2 separate regions of the Homo sapiens genome follow, and region 1 is linked to region 2. Evidence: promoter capture Hi-C in 16 types of primary human blood cells and fetal thymus (Javierre and others, 2016). All regions are on one chromosome and are shown on one strand. The core of a region is centred on a gene start or on the middle of the fragment in contact, and the rest is flanking DNA. Distances in the headings are between cores, read along the strand shown.

What was found. The method cuts DNA at HindIII sites, captures the fragments that hold promoters and counts their contacts. A CHiCAGO score of 5 or more calls a contact.
Region 1: a contact is called between a fragment that was not itself captured here and the fragment with the promoter of TIMM10 in region 2, in 4 of 17 cell types (total CD4 T cells, non-activated CD4 T cells, total CD8 T cells and 1 more). The highest score is 10.2, in total CD4 T cells.

What each region holds. Positions count from the first base shown.
Region 1 is chr11:58,547,104-58,553,335 of GRCh38, forward strand. It overlaps LPXN (leupaxin), which reads right to left. Exons shown (of 9, transcript NM_004811.3): 5 at 3,962-4,129; 6 at 2,870-3,043; 7 at 2,683-2,764. Among named protein-coding and RNA genes, the nearest start is that of LPXN, 26 kb to the right of the region's middle. The HindIII fragment of the contact is 2,421 bases long and covers 3,468-5,888 here.
Region 2 is chr11:57,529,312-57,535,669 of GRCh38, forward strand. TIMM10 (translocase of inner mitochondrial membrane 10) reads right to left here and starts at 1,443. Exons shown (of 3, transcript NM_012456.3): 1 at 1,347-1,443; 2 at 808-923. The coding sequence starts at 878. RefSeq lists an enhancer at 1,443-1,622. The HindIII fragment of the contact is 3,024 bases long and covers 1-1,616 here.

The DNA.
Region 1 (6,232 bases), core at 3,428-5,927, 1.0 Mb after region 2:
AAGTCCATAGATGAGTCTGGCTGAAAGAGCCTATGGCAGCTGAATAGAAACATGCAGCTAAAAATTATAACTCCACTGGCTGTCAGAGAAAAGAGTAAGTTATCCATGGTCCTTCTATGAAAATATGAGAGGAAGAGATTATCTGGAACGATGTTAATAATTTCTAAGGGTTCACTAGGAGGGAACAATGAAAGCCCCTTGAAAAAAGAATCTTTACAAAACAAATCCTCAAAGAAACATGACAAGGAGAGAATAGCTAGTCAAGACACGTAAAGGGCAATCAAGAGTTCACTGCTGGACCTGTCTTAATCCCGAAAAGAATTCAGGGAAAAAAGTCAGAGCTAAACACTGGCTGAGCCTGGAGAGCATAAAGCCAATTTAACAACAATCCTAGACAAGTTAGACCTTCCTGCCTTCTATTCTCATCTCCATCCTCCCTAGTGTTTCAACCCTAGAGCAGGCAGGTGTCAAGGCTGGCAATAAGGGTGAGGGTGGTAGATAACAAAGCGAGGTCAGGAGAGAGGAAAGGCCATACCCCTGTCCTCGCCTCCTGCAGCTTGAAGGTCCTAAAAAAGAGAGGGAGTGGCTGTCACTTTTAAAGTGCTGGAAGCCTTAACTATTACACAGACTGAATTACCTAATGGCTTAGTTTTTGTGTTTTGTTTCTTAAATTGATTTTATATTTAGAACTGTTTTTTAACAGTAATCAGAAAAGACAGAGGACTGCACAAGCTTTTATTTATGAGAGGAGAAATCCTTCCCCACTGAGTTCATTCTAAAAGGACAGGAGAAAAACAAAGTAAAGCAGCTTTCTGATTCCATATTTGTTCAAAACAAACATAAAAAGGAGAAATTAAAAAAAACAAGACAATTCAGAAAACACATGAAACAAACATACAAAGGGGGAAGAATGGGTCATGTAGAAAGGATCAAGGATAAAAAAAATTTAATAAAAACTTGCCAATCATGGAAGCTAGAAGACAGTGAAGCAATGTCTTCAGAATTATGAAGGAAAATAGTTTCCACTTAGAATTCTATGCCCAGGCAACTTAAGGGCAATGACAGAATAAAAATATTTTCAGATATTCAAGTTCTCAAAAATTCTTTCTCAGAAAGCTACTAGGGGATGTTCCCCACCAAAATAAAGGTGGTAACATGTATAAAACATAGACATGGGACCCAGGAAACAGAGCATCCAAAGAGGAAACTAATAAAAGGAATTTCCAAGAGTAATTACTAGATATAATTCTAAGTTAATGAACCAGAATGACTGCTACTCAGCAGGAAGAAATCATTTCATGTTGAATCAGGAGGAGGAAAGTCTCCTGGAGGGATATCTCCAGAAAAAAAAAAAAGAAAAGAAAGAAACTGACTTGTTGCCAGATGTAGTTGGCCATTTTGAAAAGAATTTCACAGTTCTGTTGCATAACTTAGTGATAAGTACAATAAAAACTAAGCCAATTTCAAAAAGGATTCAAATGTTAACTTTAGAAAAAAATGAATTTATACCAAAAGGACACTGTGATAATAATATTAACACTACTATACCTCCATGTGCTTGGCACTATTCTAAATACCACGCTTGTATTGTCTCTAAATCCTCATAACAACCCTATAAGGTAGGCAATTTCATTAGGACTATTTTACTGATGAGGAAAGTAAGGTACAGAGATGTTAAATGACTTGAACAAATACCACAACCCAGATTTGAACCTGGAAGTCTGACTCTAAAATCCAGACTCTAGTGTAGTCAGTTTGCTACATGGCTTACTTGTGAGCAGTATTCTATGATTGTCAACATATGCACACTTAATACTGATCTAACCTGTAATTATGACATAATTATATATTGAAAAAACAGGGGAGGGGAAATATGTTAGGAGTGAGTGGGGTAATAATAACATTTCTAAACCTCATCTTCCCTCTTAGACAGTCAATACATAATGGTTAAAACTGGAAAAATAAAACAATCTATAACAATATAAAGTTATTATTTAAAACACATAAGCAGGCCAGGCGCAGTAGTTCATGCCTGTAATGCCAGCACTTTGGGAGGCCAAGGCGGGCGGATCACGAGGTCAGGAGTTCAAGACCAGCCTGGCCAATATGGTGAAACATTGTCCCTACTAAAAATACAAAAATTAACCGGGTGTGGTGGCAAGTGCCTGTAGTCCCAGCTACTTGGGAGGCTGAGGCAGGAGAATCGCTTGAACCCAGGAGGTGGAGGTTGCAGTGGGCGGAGATCGCACCAGAGATCGCACCACTGCACTCCAGCCTGGGCAACACAGTGAGACTCCGTCTCAAAAAAACAAACAACAACAACAACAAAAAATAAGTAAATATCAGAAGAAACAGCTAAAATAATTTGGAGAGGAGAACTGGATTTGGAGATGAGAAAGGGACTTTTTCAATATTCAACAAGAAAAGGCTTTTTCAATATTACCCTTGAAGTAATATTTGAGTTTTTAAACTATGCATTTGTATTTCTGTGATTTAAAAAATCAATTTAAAGGGAAATTATAAATGTTGGAGAAAGGTAGGGAGGGATGGTATCTAGTACTGAAATGGGCACTTTGATAGTACTGATAGGAACCAGGACTCCCGTGACTACCAGGAAAGGTGTTGCTGGTCTTATAACTACCCACTGGGGTGTGGGATACAGCCTCTCAAGTCGGGTCATACCTTCTGCACCAAACACCTCTCCGCAGTGAGAGCAGAAGAAGTGCTCTGGGTGCCAGGTCTGGTTCATTGCTGTCAGCACTTTCTGGAAAGGGAACACACAGATATTATAATGATGCAGAAGTTGTAAAGCATGACTCTGGTTCTAAGTGAGTGACTGAAAGCTGGAGAGGAGCGGGGATTTACTTACATCCAGGATGGGAGCAGCGCAGTAAGCACAGCGTGGAGAAAAAAGTTGGTGGTAGTCGTTGGGGCAGTAGGCCAAGCCACTCCGCTCAAAGAAGGGACTGGAGCCAATCTCTTCTTTGCAATGAGTACAGACAAAATGCTCAGGATGCCATGATTGCCCTAGAGCATGGATCACCTGTGGAGTGAAATAAAGCCTGACACAGGAGGCCAGTTGAGTGCTCTACAGCCTACAGGTTGCACAACTCTAGGGAGCACTCTTCACATTGTACCCCTTGTAGACAACACGCCCTGGAATTATACAACACTGAGGCCTAGACCTAGGTTCCACCTAAGGCCATCTGTGGTCTGTGCTTTATGGATTGATAATAAAAGGATGCCCACTTCCGGGACTGATCACTGTGATGAAAGCCTGTAAATGTTCACAACCACTGCACTGCCACAGGGGGTGGCAGAAACAACATATAGCACATTGATGACAGAGAAGTTGTAACTGTAGCCTTAGTGTGGAAGGGACCCCTGGAAGAGGAAAAGGCCAAATGACAGTTTTTATTCCTCTAGTTTGAACACTTTATTCCACGCCCCATGCAGTCAGGTCTCAAAGCTTTTTATCATAGCTTCGGTGAAGGACGATGCAGAACAGGAGTTTGCAGCTGTGACTTGGAGCTGAGTTCAGCTGAAAATTGTAATCAATCAATTTAGACTGGGAATGTGTGAACAAAGGGAGCAGTGAGAAAGGTCATCTCAGTAAAGGCAGTACAGAAAAATGGTCAAGAACTCAAACTCAGGAGACAGTCTCCTGGTTTCAGATCTTACCTCTACCTCTTATTATGCCTTGGATATGTCCATTAATGTCTCTGAGTCCTCAGTTTCCTCATCTTTACAAAGGGAGCAATCATTCTTCTTGAAGGGCTGATGTGACCATTAAATGAGGAAATACTTGTAAAGCACTTAGCTCAGTGGCCAGAGCACTGTAAGTGATTAGTAATTATTAATGCTAACTAAAATATCTTAAAATATAAGGGGAAAGAGCAAACCTTGATGAGACAGAGAGAGACAAAGAAGGCTGTAGGACCAAAATTTCAGCCCATCTCACCTTCCCAGCAATCGGTTTCTGGCAGGATGCACAATGGCCCTTGGGCACTGTGGCAATGCCAAGGTCCTGCAATTCCTGCTCCAGACCCCCAAGCATTGAGTCCAGGGAGGCCTTGTGATCCTGCTTGTCTGGTAAGTGCTTCTTGCCAGCATCTGCTCTCACTGCAACCTGGCCCAAGGGAAGAACCAAGAACAGAATCAGCCTCATTTTTATTCTCATTGGCATCTTCTAATGACTCTATAAATTCACCTCTACTGACTGATCTCTTGGCCTTTCCCCAACCTTCCTGCAAGACATTGGAAAAATCTAAAATTTCAACACCAATAAAAATCTTTTCATCTCCCTTTCATCCTAAACTCCTCAGGCCAAATGAAATCTGACTAATTTTATATTTGTAAATCTTTTCTTAATGTAGGAAATTTAGTACATGAAGATGATACCCTTTGAAGATCTTAGGATGACCCCAGTTCAAAAATTAGTCACATCTCCCTTTTACTCATTTATTTGGCAATAATTGTTGAATACCTGGTTTGTGCCAATCACTGCTCTAAGCACTTGGATTAAAGCAAAGATAAGACAGACCAAGTGTCTGGCCTCATGGAATTGCATTCTGTGGGCGATAGACAATAAATAATTAAATAAATAAATATATGTTGTAATGTCAGACAGAGATAAGTTATAGAAAGAGATAGAAGGGACACAGCAAGATGGTAAGAAGAATTGATTTAGATGGAGGTAATAATCAAAGAAGGCCCCTCTAAGGAAGTAATATTTGAGTAGATACTTGGGACTTAGAAATATTGACATTTATGGGAAAAGCATTCTAGGGGAAGGGAAGGCCCCGAGGAATAAAACAACTTGGCACATTAGAAGAAAAGTCAAAGAGGTCAGTGGGGCTAGAGCAGAGGGAGTGAGATTGAACACGGCAGGAGAAGGTGATGGAGAGAGAGGCAAAGATCACATAGGAACCTCATGGTAAACGCTTGGGTTTTATTCCAAGGTGATGGAAGCCATTGCAGGATTTCAAGCACAGGAGTGAAGGAATCTGGAGGATCCCTGTGGTAGCTGAGTGGAGAACTAAGTGTTGACAAGCAAGAGTGAATACAGGGAGATTTTCAGATAATGACTTAGATCAGTATTACAGGAGAAGGTGGTGAGAAGTGGTCAGATAAGACTTGTTGATGGATTGGAATTATTTAAGCAAAAGCCCAAAATTATTATAAACCATTCAAAGAAGGATCCTCAAATTAAAAGAAAAAAAAAAAAGGCTAACTGACCCTTCATAACCTCATAACCTGATTCTGGCTCTCTCTACTCCTTTCCAGCTGGGCGACTGCTACCATCTATCTACTGAATACTTCACTCATCAGAAAACTACAATGGCTCTCCATTGCCACCACATCAAGTCTTCACTCATCAGACAGACATTCAAAGCCTCCCATCCACTGTCCTCCCTTTTTATCTTTCCCAATTTCATCTTTTATTAATACTATGTTGTAAAAGGACAGCTGGGCTCTTCATCTCCTGAATGTGATCTGTTACTGTCTGCCTTAAGACCTCTACTTATCCTACTTTTACTGCCTGTTATAACATCACACTGTCACCAATCAAAATGCTCATTTTGCTTCGAGACATTTTGATCATCTGACAGACATCCTTCCTTCTCTAATATATGTTAGTTAATATTCAAGAGGTTAGTGTTCAGAAGGTTAGTGTCTGAAAGGTCTGAAAGGGTGACTGACATTAATTATGAAAAATAAGTAAAAATACAATATAACTACATCTACACCTACATCTCTATCTCTTCACTGTTATCTTCCAGAATACTTCTGAACAGATATAGAAGAGACAGGAAATTCTGCCTATCTCCGGTGGGGCAGAACTGGATGGCTAGGGTGCAGAGCTGAGAAGGAAACAGTTCAGTGCAAGCTTTTTGCACTTTTGATTTGTGTACAATGTGAAAGTGCAGCTTATTCAAAAGATAAATGGGGCCGGGCACAGTGGTTCATGCCTGTAATCCTAGTACTTTGAGAGGCCGAGGCAGACAGGTGGCCTGAGCTTAGAAGTTTGAGACCAGTCTGGGCAACATAGCAAAACCTCGTCTCTACTAAAAATACAAAAATTAGCTGGGCATGGTGGCACACGCCTGTAATCACAGCTACTCAGGAGGCTGAGGCACTAGAATCGCTTGAACCCAGGAGGTGGAGGTTGCAGTGAGCCGAGATCATGCCACTGCACTCCAGGCTGGGTAACCGAGTAAGAATCTGTCTC
Region 2 (6,358 bases), core at 193-2,692:
CAGTCTACACTTAAAAATCCTTCTAATTTATAGCCTTCAGGATAAACCAACCAATCAAGAGAGCTTAAGCCAATAAAAATAGCAGACATTTCACTAAGTGTTGGGCTTGAGGCTAAGGGCTTTCATATATTTTTAGATTTAATATTTATGATGTCCTATGAGGTAGGTATCATTATGTCTTCTTCATAATGAGGAAACCAATTGTCAAACAGTGCAAGTAACATGTCCAATTATACTGCTGGTGATTGGTGGAGCCAGGATTTGTTCCCAAATTTGCCAAATGGTTATGAGCACTAGTTGCAGAATCAGACTGAGGTGCTAGTTCTGGCATTGTTACTGACCAGCTGCCGACCCTAAGGAAGTTACTTAACCTCTAGAATCATCAATTTCCTCATTTTAAGACGGGACTAATAAAATTAACCCACTGGATTATTTTGAAGATTAACAAGTGCCTGACACAGAATAAAGGGTTTTAAAATGTTAACTACTAAATGGGCTGGCTATGTGCTATTTGTCAAGAGGCAAATACTCAGCTTTTCTTGGAACCTAACCAGAGCCTGGATTGGAGTTTCTCTTCCTGCTTGGCTCCTGCATTGCCAGTTCCATCCCCATCTAAATGCCCAACTCATTCTAGTGACCCTTTACTGCATCTACATTAGGATCAACCTTGAAGGTGGGTGTGGGGAGGGTAAGCATGGGCCTCAGGCTCCCCTACATTCAGGAAGGAATTTGTCATAAGTCATTCACCTTCGATAAGGGTGACCAAGACTTATTTTCCAAGACAGGGTAGCACATAGTTCTCTTTACCTGTTGTACATATCGGCCATCATCTCCACCTCCAGCTCCGCAGCCAGCTGTTGGGCCCTGAGAGGATCCATCTCAGCCTAGCACCGTGGAAGGGATCTCCTTCTGGCCTCCTAATCCTGGGAGCAGACATCACCATCAGCACCCACCGCCGCCGTTCACTCTCCTACCCCTGGGGCTAGAGGATACAGAGGACTCACAGGGCGCCAGACCACCACGGGCCACTAACCTCAGTGAGCTTAACCACCCCATTTCACGGATGTGGAAACTGAGGCCTAGCCCAAGGTCGCACAGGACGTCTATGGCGAGCCTGGAAATCGAGCCCCGGATCTCTGATGCCCCAGTTCCTGGAGGTCACCTCTATTCAGGAGATCGAGGACCGGAGGAGAACTCTCTAACCCACGAACCTGAACCTCCAGGGCCCTGGGAATGGGATCATACGCTGAACAGAGGCGACCGGGACCCAGCCCAAAGGCTACACCTCTGAAATGGCGACGCCATCATCAGGGCCACATTGAATTCAGAGGTCATGTGTCACTTACCACTGCCTGGGACGGATCACAATGCCCACGGAGACCCCAACTTCTGACAAATACTATAACGTTACCCGCCTCCCGAGAGGCTCCAGCGGAAGCACGTGGGTTACTTCCGGGAGGAAAGTCCCGCCTCTTCTTTGATTCAAACTCGCTTCCGGAATTAAATACCAACGAGACGGCGCCGGGAACTCGGCGATCATAGAGAGGGAGCGGCTGGCGCCGGGCGAAGAGGAAGGCGACTTGCCAGTGCTAGAGAGGACACCAAAGTACCATAGAAGCTTGGGCGGGGTGCAGAGCGTCTGCAGCCCGATCAGAATTCAAGTCCTTTGGGATGTCACCGAGCGGCTTCAGTTTATTGGTTCTGTAGGAAGAGGCGTGGCGACAGACACCTGTGAACCTCACCCCCGTTCCAGACAGCCGACTCCTGTGCGCAAATCAGGCGTGGAGAAGGAAGAACGCCCCCAAACAGCGGTTCTGTTTTTGTTTCGCGTTAAAATCACCTGGAACGTTTTTAAACATCCCAGTGCCCAGGACTCACCTCATTTCAATTAAATCAGAATCTCTGGGAGTACAGTTTAAAATTCCTCAGGCAGCAATACAATTTAAAATTCCCCAGGTGATTCGTATGTACAGCCAAATTTGAGAAGCAGTGCTCCACGGGACGTTGTGCGATTACTGCTGTGTGTAGGTCACACTAAGCCCCGTCTGGGGTTGCAAAGATAAGCGAGATAGGCTTCCTGTTCGCAGAAAGACAAGACGTGTAAAATATGTTTTCTTCAACAGTTAGAGGTCCTCAGCCACAAAGAGATAATAAAAGCAATTTCGGCTGCCACCAGGGCTAATCTTGGGTGAGGGAAAGAAGGGTACTGGTGAACTTTCCAACTTTCAAGACTTAATGTGTTCTTCAAACTGCACCATTCACTCATTCCCCACTAAAAAGAAGGAAACAAGGAAACAATACTCAGTCCCTTGATTTGTCACACAATTTCCTGGTAAAATAAATTTACAAGATGTAAATTAATGACGCAAGGGCACATTGCCCATTGGAAAAGGTGGGCTAGACATTTTCTGTGTGGTCATCATAAGCTTCCCTAATTGTCCAAGACCATCCTAATTTTAAACAATTGACCTTTCTACTGCTTTGAAGACTCATCTTTGCCAAACTTGTGCCCTGATTTTTAAAGATTGGGGTATAACATTCATAAAGTGCATAAAATACACGAATGTTAAGCTTAATTAAATATATATGTATCTATATATGTACATTTGTATAACCGCCATCCAGATCAAGATATAAAATACTTCCTGCACCCCAAAAAGTTATCTTGTGTTCCTTCCCCATCAATACCCCCTCTCGAAGTTAACCACTATTCTGACCTCTATCACCATCAATTAGTTTTCCTTGTTCTTGAACTTCGTGTAAATGGAATTATACATTATTTTCTATTTTGTGCCTGACTTCTTTAGCTCAATGTACCTGTAAGATTTCCTCCATATTGTTGTGTGCATCTGTTATTCCTTCTGTTTTATTGCTGTCTAGTGTTTGATTGTATGAGTATGCCACAATTCATCTATCCATTCTCCCGTTGGTGGATGTTTGGATTGTTTCCAGTTTTTGCCTATTATGCAATAATGCTGCTATGATACTCTTGTACAGATGGACATATCTTGCCTTGGTTTTTGCCTTTGAAAATATAGTCAACATTGGCCGGGTGCAGTGGCTCACGCCTGTAATCCCAGCACTTTGGGAGGCTGAGGTGGGTGGATCACCTGAGGTCAGGAGTTCGAGACCAGCCTGGCCAACTTGGTGAAACCCCATCTCTACTAAAAATACAAAAAAGTAGCCCGGTGTGGTGACGGGTGCTTGTAATCCCAGCTACTCAAGAGGCTAAGCAGGAGGCTAAGGCAGGAGAAACACTTGAACCCGGGAGGCAGAGGTTGCAGTGAGCCAAGATCGCACCATTGCACTCCAGCCTGGGCAACAAGAGTGAAACTCCGACCCCCCACTCCCCGCAAAAAAGAAACATTATGGAAAGTTAAGAAACTGCGTGGGAAAAGGAGATGGTTTCTTACAAGAGGAATCTTGCAATATCTACTGGGCCTTATGAAAGGTTGCATACTGTATGATTTCATTTAAGTAACATTCTCAAAATCACAAAATTATAGAGATGGAGAAGAGATTTCTGATTGTCTAGTGTTAGGGTTGATGGGGAGATAGAAGTGTACCTGTAAAGGGTAGCACAAGAGAGATCTTTGTGTTGATGGATAATTCTGTATCCTGATTGTGGTGGTGGTTACAAGAATCTACACAGGTGATAAGATGTCATAGAACTGGCAGGGTGCGGTGGCTCACGCCTGTAATCCCAGCACTGTGGGAGGCCCAGGCGAGCGAATCACAAGGTAGGAGTTCGAGACCAGCCTTGTTGGTGAAACTCCGTCTCTACTAAAAATACAAAAAATTAGCTGGGGGTAGTGGCGGGCACCTGTAACCCCAGCTACTCAGGAGCCTGAGGCAGGAGAATCGTTTGAACCCGGGAGGTGGAGGTTGCAGTGAGCCGAGATCGTGCCACTGCACTCCAGCCCAGGCGACAGAGTGAGACTCCGTCTCAAAAAAAAAAAAAAAGCCAGGCGCGGTGGCTCACACCTGTAATCCCAACACTTTGGGAGGCCGAGGCGGGTGGATCACGAGGTCAGGAGATCGAGACCATCCTGGTTAACATGGTGAAACCCCGTCTCTACTAAAATAAAAAAAATCAGCCGGGTGTGGTGGCATGCGCCTATAGTCCCAGCTACTCAGGAGGGCGAGACAGGAGAATCGCTTGAACCCGGGAGGCGGGAGGCAGAAGTTGCAGTGAGCCGAGATTGTGCCACTGCACTCCAGCTTGGGCGACAGAGCAAGACTCGGTCTAAAAAAAAAAAAGAAAGAAAAAAAAAGTCATAGAACTACTACACACACACATTGTACCAATATAAATTATCTGGCTTTGATATTGAATATAGTTATGTTAGATTTAACCTTTAGTGGAAGTTGGTAAAGGGCGTACAGGACCTCTCTGTACTATTAATGCAACTTCCTGTGAAACTATAATTATTTCTAAATAAAAAGTTTTAAAAATCTCTACAAAAAAGAAAACAAATAAGATTATACAAGTATGAGTAAGAGCTGGCCATAAAGAAAGAAAGAAAAATATTTATATAAAAGATTGTGTAAGTAAAGTACCTAGTCCATGGTAGATGCTCAATAAAAATAAATCATTGTTTTCATTCTTTTTCATTTTTAAACTTTCACTGGGGCAAATTTATTTTTATTTTTACTTAGGATTTTTGAGGCAGGATCTTGCCTTGTCACCCAGGCTTGAGTGCAATGGTATGATCAGTGCTCACTGCAATCGTGAACTCCTTGGCTTAAGCAATCCTCTTACCTCAGCCTCCTAAGTAGCTGGAACTAGAGGCATGAGCCACCATGCCTGGCTAATTTTTTTTTTTAAGAGATAGGGTCTCATCATGTTTCCCAGGCTGGTTTCAAACTCCTGGGCTCAAACAATCCTCCTGTCTTGGCCTCTCAAAGTGCTGGGATTACAGGCATGAGCCACCCCATGCCCAGATGGAATATTTAAAACATACAGAAAAGCAGAGAGAACAGGACATTGAGCTTCCATATATTCATCACCAGGACTTAGGAATTGTTAACATTTGTCCATATTTTCTTCATCTATTTTTATCTCTAACAGATAAAGCCCTTTTATTTATTTATTTTTTCCTTGAGACAGGGTCTCTGTCGCTCAGCCTGGAGTGCAGAGACCCAATCATAGCTCACTGTTAGCTTAAACTCCTGGGCTCAAGCAATCCTCCCATCTCAGCCTCCTGAATAGCTAGGACTACAGGCGCAAGCCACCATGCCTGAGTGGTTTTTAAAATTTTTTGTAGAGATAGGGTCTTGCTATGTTGTCCAGGCTGGTTTCAAACTCCTGGCCTCAAGCGATCCTCCTGCCTCAGCCTCCCAAAGCACTGGCATTACAGGCATGAGTCACTGCACTGGGCCCTGCTTAACAAAAAAAATTTTTTTAAACGGAGTCTCGCTCTGTCACCAGACTGGAGGATAGTGGCACGATCTCCGCTCACTACAGCCTCTGCCTCCCAGGTTCAAGGGATTCTCCTGACTCAGCCTCCCAAGTAGCTGGGACTACAGGCGCATGCCACCACACCCAGCTAATTTTTGTGTTTTTAGTAGAGATGGGGTTTCACCATGTTGGCCAGGATGGTCTCAGTCTCCTGACCTCATGATCCACCTGCCTTGGCCTCCCAAAGTGCTTTATACACCGCGCCCGGCCAACAAATTTTTAAGTGCACAAAATAGTATTGTTAACTATATGTACCATATTGTACACAGATTTCTAGAACTTATTCATCTTGCATAACTGAAATTGTATACCCATTGAACAGCAACTCTCCATCTCCCCAGCTGCTCAGCCTCTGGAAAACCATTGCTCTTATTGATGATGATGCTATTGTTATTATGATTATTTACTATGAGACTGTGTCTTTCCTCTATGTGGAGACCTACAGGTAGGAATCTCCAATGGTCCCAGTTGAATTGCTTCTTGTAGAAGACAGTTTAGATAGCCTCAGACTTTGAAGATATCCTTAGACTCCAGATATGTCATCCAAAGCTACTGATCTCTGTCAACACCATGCTGAAACTCTGGCTCCTCATTCTACCCTGCATTCTACCCCTTCCCAACCTTGCAAAGGTGAGTTGTATATTTGTCATTCATCGTGGGTCAGTATTGTCCTCTTGGGTGGGACCCCAGCCCCAGAAGAAGAGATGCAGAGTTTTCATCTAGAATCACTTCAAGTGGGCCCTGACCACTCATGAGAGGTGCAGAGAATACAAAAACAGAGGTTTCCTGTAACCTCCCTTGTGATGAAATGGCTTACGTCATTCTATTCACTTGAAGAAAAAGCTGGCCCTGGCTTAATCACTGTCTGCACTATTACTGTTTCCCATCACTTCTTCT